2 separate regions of the Homo sapiens genome follow, and region 2 is linked to region 1. Evidence: promoter capture Hi-C in human tissues and cell types (Jung and others, 2019). All regions are on one chromosome and are shown on one strand. Each heading gives the region's core, a stretch centred on a gene start or on the middle of the fragment in contact. The rest is flanking DNA. Distances are from core to core; before and after follow the strand shown.

Evidence for each region. Contacts are between HindIII fragments. The study calls those that stand out against the background at their distance.
Region 2: a fragment that was not itself captured here is called in contact with the fragment with the promoter of SORD in region 1 in 1 of the 25 tissues and cell types used here (lymphoblastoid cells).

Annotation. Positions count from the first base shown.
Region 1 is chr15:45,019,738-45,024,730 of GRCh38, forward strand. SORD (sorbitol dehydrogenase) reads left to right here and starts at 3,458. Exons shown (of 9, transcript NM_003104.6): 1 at 3,458-3,612. The coding sequence starts at 3,547. RefSeq lists a silencer at 3,238-3,407 and an enhancer at 4,177-4,827. The HindIII fragment of the contact is 3,784 bases long and covers 442-4,225 here.
Region 2 is chr15:44,872,212-44,876,948 of GRCh38, forward strand. It overlaps the pseudogene SORD2P. Among named protein-coding and RNA genes, the nearest start is that of TERB2, 82 kb to the right of the region's middle. The HindIII fragment of the contact is 5,830 bases long and covers 1-4,737 here.

The sequences.
Region 1 (4,993 bases), core at 2,208-4,707:
TGGTCTTTTCACATAGTCCCATATTTCTCGGAGGCTTTGTTCATTTCTTTTTACTCTTTTTTCTCTAAACTTCTCCTCTCACTTTATTTCATTAATTTGATCTTCAATCACTGATATCCTTTCTTCCATTTGAATGAATTGGCTGTTGAAGCTTGTGCATGCATCACATAGTTCTTGTGCCATGGTTTTCAGCTCCATCAGGTCATTTAAGGTCTTCTCTACACTATTTATTCCAGTTAGCCATTCGTCTAATCTTTTTTCAAGGTTTTTAGCTTCTTTGCGATGGGTTTGAACATCCTCCTTTAGCTGGGAGAAGTATGTTATTACCAACCTTCTGAAGCCTACTTCTCTCAGCTCATCAAAGTCATTCTCCGTCCACCTTTGGTCCGTTGCTGATGAGGAGCTGTGATCTTTTGGAGGAGAAGAGGCACTCTGGATTTTAGAATTTTCCGTTTTTCTGCTCTGGTTTCTCCCCATCTTCGTGGTTTTATCTACCTTTGATGCTGGTGACCTACAGATGGGGTTTTGGTGTGGATGTCCTTTTTGTTGATGTTGATGCTATTCCTATTTGCTAGTTTTCCTTCTAAGAGTCAGGTCCCTCAGCTGCAGATCTGTTGGAGTTTGCGGGAGGTCAACTCCAAACCCTGTTTACCTGAGTATTACCAGTGGAGGCTGCAGAACAGCAAATATTGCAGAAGAGCAAATGTTGCTGCCTGATCCTTCCTCTGGAAGCTTCGTCCCACAGGGGCACCCGCCTGTATGAGGTGTCAGTTGGCCCCTACTGGGAAGTGTCTCCCAGTTAGGCTACATGGGGGCCAGGGACCCACTTGAGGAGGCAGTCTGTCCATTCTCAGAGCTCAAACACTGTACTGGGAGAGCCACTGCTCTCTTCAGAGCTGTCAGACAGGGACGTTTAAGTCTGCAGAAGTTTCTGCTGTCTTTTGTTCACCTATGCCCTGCCCCCAGAGGTGAGGTCTACAGAGGCAGCAGACCTTGCAGAGCTGCGGTGGGCTCTGCCCAGTTCAACCTTCCCGGCTGCTTTGTTTACCTACTCAAGCCTCAGCAATGGCGGACGCCCCTCCCCTGCCAGGCTGCTGCCTCAGACTGCTGTGCTAGTAGTGAGCAAGGCTCTGTGGGCGTGGGACCCACTGAGCCAGGCACAGGATTTAATCTCCTGGTGTGCCATTTGCTAAGACCGTTGGAAAAGTGCAGTATTTGGGTGAGAGTGTCCTGATTTTCCAGGTACAGTCTGTCACAGCTTTCCTTGGCTAGGAAAGGGAAATCCCCCAACCGCTTGCGCTTCCCGGGTGAGGCAATGCCCCTCCCTGCTTCGGCTCACCCTCCATGGGCTGCAGCCACTGTCCAACCAGTCCCAATGAGATGAACCAGGTACCTCAGTTGGAAATGCAGAAATCACCGTCTTCTGCATCGATCACACTGGGAGCTGCAGACCGGAGCTGTTCCTATTTGGCCATCTTGGAACGGAATCTGGATGATTTACTTTTGGCTACCAATTTGGAAGCCTCATGCCAGCAGGCTACTCTAGATCTCTTGAACTTTCTAGGTAATCAAGCGGGCAAGGTGTCTAAACTGAAAGCCCAGCTCTGCCTACAACAAGTCAAATATCTAGGCCTAATCTTAGCCAGAGGAACCAGGGCCCTCAGCAAGGAACAAATACAGCCTATACTGGCACCGGTCCCTCAAGGCGTAGCACCAACCAGATTGATAAACTCACTTATCTGACCTTGTGGCCCTCGCCCAGAAACTGACTCAGTCCAAGAAGACAGCTTAGATCCCCTATGATTTCATCTCTGACCCAAACAATCAGCACTCCTGACTCACTGGCCTTTCCCCACCCATCAAACTATCCTTAAAAACTCTGAGTCCCCGTATGCTCGAATGCTTGGGGAGCCGGATTTGAGCAATAATGAAATTCCAGTCTCCTGCATAGCTGGTTCTGCATGAACTCTTTCCCTATTGCAGTTCCCCTGTCTTGATAAATTAGTTTTGTCTAGGCAGCAGGCAAGGTGAATCCATTGGGCGGTTACATATTGGGGAGGGGGGACTGTAAGGGAATGAAATCCTGAGCATTATCCTCAAAGGAGGGAGGGGCCTTATAGACTTAGGCCTATCTAGAAGCGCCTCTCTCCTCAGAGAGTAAAACCTCACTGTTTCTCAGAGGGCTGAGAGGCTTGAAGGAAGAGTTTGGGCAGAAACTCTGCTTTGAATAGAAGCAGCAGATCCAGTTGAGAGAAAGAGGTTCACAAATTCCATTTCATGGCTTTTTTTTTTTTAAAGACAGATTTTCACTCTTGTTGCCCAGGCTGGTGTTGAATGGCATGATCTCAGCTCACTGCAACCTCTGCTTCCCAGGTTCAAGCTATTCTCCTGTCTCAGCCTCCCGAGTAGCTGAGATTAAGGCGCATGCCACCATGCCCGGCTAATTTTTGTATTTTTAGTAGAGACGGGGTTTTCACCATATTGGTCAGGCTGGTCTCGAACTCCTGACCTCAGGTGATCCACCTGCCTCGGCTTCCCAAAGTGCTGGGATTACAGGCAAGAGCCACTGCGCCCGGCCTCATGTCTTTTTTATACTTAAGCACCAGGCCCATGTAATGATGCACGAATTCATTTACTCCTACTCGTGCCAGGCCCTTTCCTGGGGGCTGGAGACAAAGGGCCGACGTGGACGCTGCGTCATGGTAGCACCTGTCTCGCAAAGTGCACACCGTGCTCCACCCACAGCCTCAGCATTCTCGTTGCTAGGAATATGGACCCTCAGGCAGCACCTCAGACCTAGACCTACTGTATCAGAATCTCTGTGCTGGTCCTGAGAATGTGCATTCTCAACAGCGCCTCACATTCCCCACCCCAATTCTTCTGCAGCTAACGTTTGAGAGCGCTGGTCTGGTGCCTACTGCCTCTGCAGGCGGTTTTCAAGGCAGCCGTGTGTGCTTGCATGTGAGGCGGCAAAAACAGCGCGCTGCAGGGCCGGCGCGGTGGCTCACGCCTGTAATCCCAGCACTTTGGGAGGCGGAGGCGGGTGGATCACGAGGTCAGGATATCGAGACCATCCTGGCTAACACGGTGAAACCCCGTCTCTACTAAACAAAAATACGTGGTGGTGGGCGCCTGTAGTCCCAGCTATTCGGGAGGCTGAGGCAGGAGAATGGCTTGAACCCGGGAGGCAGAGCTTGCAGTGAGCCGGGATCGCACCACTGTACTCCAGCCTCGGCGACAAACAAACAAACAAACAAAAAAAACAGCGCGCTGCAGATGGAGCCAGCACCCGGGCTTCTCGCTCCCAGCCCCCTCCCGAAGCCCCGCCCCGCCTCCGGGTCTGGAGGAGGCTGGGAAGCCCCGCCCCTCCACGCTAGCGCCGCCCAGGCTGGCACAAAGGAGGAAGCCTAGTCCCGCCCCTGCGTGCGGCGCTTCTCCCAGGCCCCACCTTCCATCCAGTGCCCTGGACCCTCGGCTGGGTAGCGCCACCAGAGCGACCAAACGTCCCGCGCCTTCCAGGCCGCACTCCAGAGCCAAAAGAGCTCCATGGCGGCGGCGGCCAAGCCCAACAACCTTTCCCTGGTGGTGCACGGACCGGGGGACTTGCGCCTGGTAAGCTGGGAAGGAGGGTGGGAAGCATACCGATCCTGCCTCACTCTCCTCTGAGCCCAGCCATAGTCCTGGCTTCCCACTTCCAGCCTGGCGCCGGCCCCGCACCTTAAGCGCCCTGGCTGCCCAGATCCCAGCTGGTTCCCCTCGGGGTGTGGGGGCAGCAGGTAGTGGCTGTTGCGAAGGGCAGGGATCTAGTCGTGTGCCTCCCGGAACCTAGCCCCGTGGCTGGCACGTGGCCGGTGCCCAGGACGGTTGCAAACTGTTTGAATGAAGCTTTCTCTCTCCTTTGCCAGCTGCAGATTCATAGTCCAGCCTCTTGTCATTGACCTTTCCAAAGGAAATGCTAAGGCTGTCTGAATTATCGGGGCAGACCGTGCAGAGCAGAGAAAGGGGGGCCAGAGGACACTTAGAAACAGCAGAACTTGTATTTAACTCCCTTGCTTGGGACTGATAAACCTCCCTTGCAGGATTATGATGATCACAAGAGTACTCAGCACTTAGTACGTGCTCAGGAAGTGCCAGCTCCTTCTCCTTTCCTTCCAGTCTAGGCCTCCATCTCCAGAACCCCTGCTGTTCCCCTTGCCTGTGCCAGACTTGTGGATCTTGATAGCTCCCTTGTCTGTAAGGATCCTTCTCTCCCTAAGACCCTGTCTGGTTCACTTTCCAGCAGTTTTTCTTTCCAATCCCGTGCCTCTGTCCCTTTAGGAGCATTCTGTATGTGTGTCCTCTGCCTTAGACCCTGCCTTTTGCTCCCTGGCTTGTGGCACCAAAGTTTAGGAAGTGGCTGAGTCAGCAGCCTAGTCATGCCAAGCCTCCCTTGACAAAGTCCCTCTCAGATGGGCCTGGGATGGCAGTGGGTATGTGGGATGAGTGCCAGCCATCTCTGCTGCTCCCCTGTACCTCTTTTCCCTCAAAGTACATGCGTCAGTATGTAAACTGCAGTAATTCAGAAGCTTATCCAGGTTAGCAGTTCTTGACTATTTAAGAATCTGTGGTGTCCCCTCCACAGAATGCAAATAGACTGAGTTTGGCAACAATTTCAGACTGCTCAAGGACTCCCTTTAAGCCGCTCTAAGCCCCTCTATAGAACCCTTGTCCCAGCTGACTCTCCATCTCCTCAGTTGAAGAAAGTACCATACCCAAGGTGATAGGTTTTGTTAGTTAACAGAGCCACGACAAGGACTCAGATGTTCAGACTCCCCATTCTAGTGCTCATTCCACTCTTTGGAGCCTCCACCCAAGGTCCTGAATTAAAGTGAGGCTGTTAGTGTTTACTGTTGCAAATGCCAGATGGTATTATGAGTAAGGGAAAGTGGTCCAGCTCTACCCAGCTTGCAGAGTGATTTCCAACTCAGTACTTCATTCCACAAACATTCACTCA
Region 2 (4,737 bases), core at 1,626-4,125, 150 kb before region 1:
AAACCAACATGGCACATGTAACCTATGTAACAAACCTGCATGTTGTGCACATGTACCCTAGAACTTAAAGTATAGTAATAATAAAAAATATAAATCATCCACATTCTGAAGGACCAGAGTTCCTGGACTTGGGAAGTGGCCTACATCTTGGGCCAGTGCCTGACCAAACAGATGAGGGCTATCCCTAAACCCTTGAGGCAAGACTGTCCACGTAAATTGGGATGTGTGGTCTGTGGGATCCTCAAAGGCAAAGAGAAACTGGGAGTCAGAGTGCAGGAGAATGCAGAAGAAGGTATCCTTGAGGTCCAGAATAGTGAACCATTCTGCTTCCTCTGGTATTTGAGAGAGCAGGGTATAGGAGTTGGCTACAACTGGATATAGAGAAATTACTGCCTCATTGATGAGACTAAGATCTTGCACTAGTCTCCACTGAACATTTGCTTTTTGTACTCCTAGAATTGGAGTGTTGCAGGGCCTATTGCATTTTCTTACTAAGCCTTGAGCTTTTAAATGTCTAACAATATACTGTAAACCTTTATGAGCTTTGGGCCTTAAGGGATATTGCCTTTGATAAGGAAAAGTGGTGGGGTCTTTTAGCCTGATTCGAACTGGCTGGGCATTTTTTGCCCTTCTGAATTGTCCTTCCAATGCCCAGACTTCAGAGTTGATTCCCTCCTCAAGTAGGAGACAACAAATGGGTAACTTGTCCCCCATATTCATATCATATCAGTAATAGCTCCAGCTTTGGCTAACACGTCCTTCCCTAATAAGAGTGTGGGACTTTCAGGCATAACAAGAAAGGCATGTGAAAAGAGCAAAGTCTCTGAATTACAACTGAGGAGGTGGGAGAAATACCTGGTTACAGGCTGTCCCAGGATTCCTCGGATGGTAATGGACTTTGAGGACAGTGGTCCGGGGCAGGAGAGTAACACTGAGAAGGCAGTGTCAGTGTCCAGGAGGAAATCAATTCACTGGCCCTCAATGGTTAAAGTTACCCGAGTCTCAGAGAAGGTGATGACATGAGCTGGCACTTGCCTTGGGCATCCTCAGTCCTGTTGTTGGATCATCTGGTTGGGGGTTCTGGCCTAGAGAACCTTTGTCCTCCAGGACATCTTCCAGTGATTGCCTTGGCATAGTGGACATGGGCGAGAGGGTGGCTTGTTTCTCATTGGACAATCTTTTTTGAAGTGTTCTTGCAAACCACACTGATAACAAGCCCTACCAGGTTATTGGCCTTCTCCATTTTCTCTCCTCTCTGAACCACCAAGGTTTGTTCATGTGAGGGCCATGAGTTAGGCTGTGGCCTTTCTCTGATCTCGCTTTTCCTTCTCAGCCTGTTCCTCTTGGTCCCTGTGATAGAACACCAAGGTTGCCAGCTTTAATAATGCCTCCAGATTTTGTTCAGGGCCCAGGGCTCACTTTTGGAGCTTTCTCGTGATATCTGCAGCTGGTTGCATAATAAACTTATCCTTTTGGATTAATTGACCCTCAAAGGAGTCAGAGGACAGGGGAGTATATTTTCTTAAGGCCTCCCATAGCCACTCGAGGAAGGTGGATGGATTTTCTTCCTTTCCCTGAGTTATGGTGGACATCATTGAATAATTCATGGGCTTTTTCCTAATTCTCTTCGTCATTCTAGAACACAGGTTAACAGATGTTTGCGACTCCAGTTCCCATGATCTGAGTCAAGGTCCCAGTGGGGATCAATACTGGTGATGGCTTGCTGACTGGTAGGGAATTTGTCCCTTTCTTTGGCTGTCATTCTATCATTTACTTGACTAAGATACCAAGTATCTCCAAACTCTCAGGCTGCAGCTAAACCTGCATTCTTTTCATTAAAGGCCAGGGTTTGATCTAACAATAGCATGACATCTCTCCAAGTGAGGTCGAAGTTTTGCCCTAGACCCTGTAGGACATCTATATACCTATCAGGATCATCTGAAAACTTCCCCAGATCTACCTTGATCTGCTTTAAATCAGAGAGGGAGAAGGGGACATGTACCCAGGTTGGGCCAAATTCCCCTCCCCCTACAGCTTGAAAAGAACATAACCAATAGCCCAGAGGTTTTTGTGGCCCCTTGGAGATTTCTTTGCTTGTTTCCTTCTGGGTGGGGGAGATTAGAGGAGGCTCATCATTAATAGGAAGAGGAGCTGTAGGGAGGCTAGGATATGGGGGTAAGCTGAGAGGTCCTCCTGTGGAATGTAGGTTGCAAGCTTTGCATAGTTGTGGATTGTCCTTCAGTGAAAAGAAAGCTTGGACATAAGGTATTTCACTCCATTTGCCTTCCATCTTACAGAAAAAGTCAAGCTGCAGGATAATACTGTAATTTATACTTTCCACAGGTGGCCATTTTTCCCTATCAGAGAGAGAATATTGGGACCAGGCCACAGTGCAGAAAAAAATAAGCCTCTTCTTTTTCAGGGCTTGCAGGTCAAATTCATCCCAATGGCTTAGGATGCATTTCAAGTGTGAGCCTGTTTGATGCCTGAGTGTTTCCCATCTAAAAGAAAAAACTGCCCATGATTTTGGTTCATTTTTTTATCCCTGACCAAAAACTTGCAACGGTCCCTGGACCCTGCTGTTCAGAATAGTTGTGCTCACTGAAGCAGCAGCAGAAACACTAGTTTTCCTCCTAGACGACAAAGAGGACTGAGGAAGGTCAGATTTAGTGGCCCTTACCAATGCATTCTCGAAAACCTGCACCCTTGCCTTTCCTCTTAGACCACAAAGAGGACCGAGAAAAATCGGATTCAGTGGCCCTTACACATTCTCGAAAACCTGTTAGTTAAGAGTCCTAAGCATTTTCTTCTGTTGGTATTGTGACCTTACCCTTGTCCTATAGAGAAGATATGCCTCAAAATGGAGTGGAGGGCCATACTTGAAGGAGGGAAGGGATCGCCAGGGTTGTAAGAGTGATGCCTTTTGTCCTCACTTCTCATCATATGAATAGGAAGGATATCCCCCCTCCCAATTTTGGAATCTATAATTTCTGAGGCTCTGCATATCTTAGCTTTGGGAATAGCCTTTGTTAGGCCTACTCGTCTGTAGAGGGATCCTAAAATTCCAGATAGTCCCTCCGAGATAGGGCTTCGGGCAATAATTATGTCTTTCTGATTGGTGAGCCTGGGTGCCTCAAAAAGGGAACAGAGTCCCGAAATTTATACAAAAATAATTCTTATAGGAGAAACTTGAAAAGCACCAGGGACAGGGAGTGGTTTTTAGAAGCAGGATTACCCTTGGAGAACAGAGGCAGGAGGAAGTTTGTCTGACAGGCATTAGGACCCAGGAGGCAAGGATCAGGATAGATAGGATAGATGGACAAGTCTCACTTGGGTGATGTAACTTTGAGAGTCTGCTCATGGCTGCAAGGTCAACCAACTTTTGTTAGGACCCCAGAGTGAATGGCTTTCCTCTCTGTTGACCCTTAGCTCAGCCCGGAAGTACAGGAGAAGCAGAAGCTGTTTCCAGGCAAACCAATGCTCCTAACTCCAAAGAGTTGGGGGGTTTTTAGAGAGCCCTTTCCTAGAAAGCCTGACACCCGTGTCTTATTCTGGGGGCCACACTAGTTCCTTCTAACTGGCTGACAAGTGCTTGGTGTTTAGCCCCCGAATTCTAAGGAAAAATAGGACAGAATAGCAAGTGAAATGGTACTCACTGCATGATGCTATCCTGGATGAGCCCCCAAAATATGTCCAGAGTTGGTTGACTGTGGGTTCATGGCCTTGCTGACTTCAAGAATGAAGCTGCAGACCTTTGCGGTGAGTGTTACAGCTCTTAAAGGTGACACCAACCCAAAGAATGAGCACTAGCAAGGCTTATTTTGAAGAGCAAAAGAACAAAGCCTCCACAGCATGGAAGGGGATCCGAGCAGCTTGCTGCTGCTGGCTGGGTGTGGCCAGCTTTTATTCCCTTATTTGTCCCCTCCTATGTTCCATTTCTATCCTATCAGAAACCCTTTTTTCAATCCTCCCTGTGATTGGCTACTTTGAGGATCCTGCTGATTGGTGCATTTTACAAAGCACTGATGGGGCATTTTACAATCCCCTTGCTAGCTACAGAATGCTGATTGGTGTTTTTTTACAGAGCACTGATTGGTGCATTTTACAATCCTCTTGTAAGATAGAAAAGTTCTTTAAGTCCCCATTTGGCCCAGGAAGTCCAGCTGGCTCCACCTCTCACCAGCACTTTGGGAGGCCAAGGCAGGCATATCACCTGAGGTCAGGATTTTGAGACCAGCCTTGCCAACGTGGCAAAGCCCTGTCTCTACTAAAAATACAAAAATTAGCCGGGCATGGTGGTGGGCACCTGTAATCCCAGCTACTTGGGAGGCTGAGGCATGAGAATCTCTTGAACCCAGAAGGCAGAGGTTGCAGTAAGCCAATATCATGCCACCGCACTCCAGCCTGGGTAACAGAGTGAGACTCTGTCTCAAAAAAACAGAAAACAAAAAAACTAAGTTCCCCACAAAGTTATTTCAGACTTTGCCCAGGAATGAACAAGGACAGCTTGGAGGTTAGAAGCAAGACGGACTTGGTTAGGTTGGATCTCTTTTACTGTCTCAGTTATGTTTTTGCAATGGCGTTTTCAATCCCTTCCTTTGGGTTTTATAACACCTTAATCTTAAGGTGTTGGCTAATGAAGATGGAGAAAGGGCAAAGACCACTCTAACTTCTTCCTGCTGACCAGGGGCATAGTCGGGGTAGGTGTTGACCCCAAGGTGAGAGGACTGGAATCAT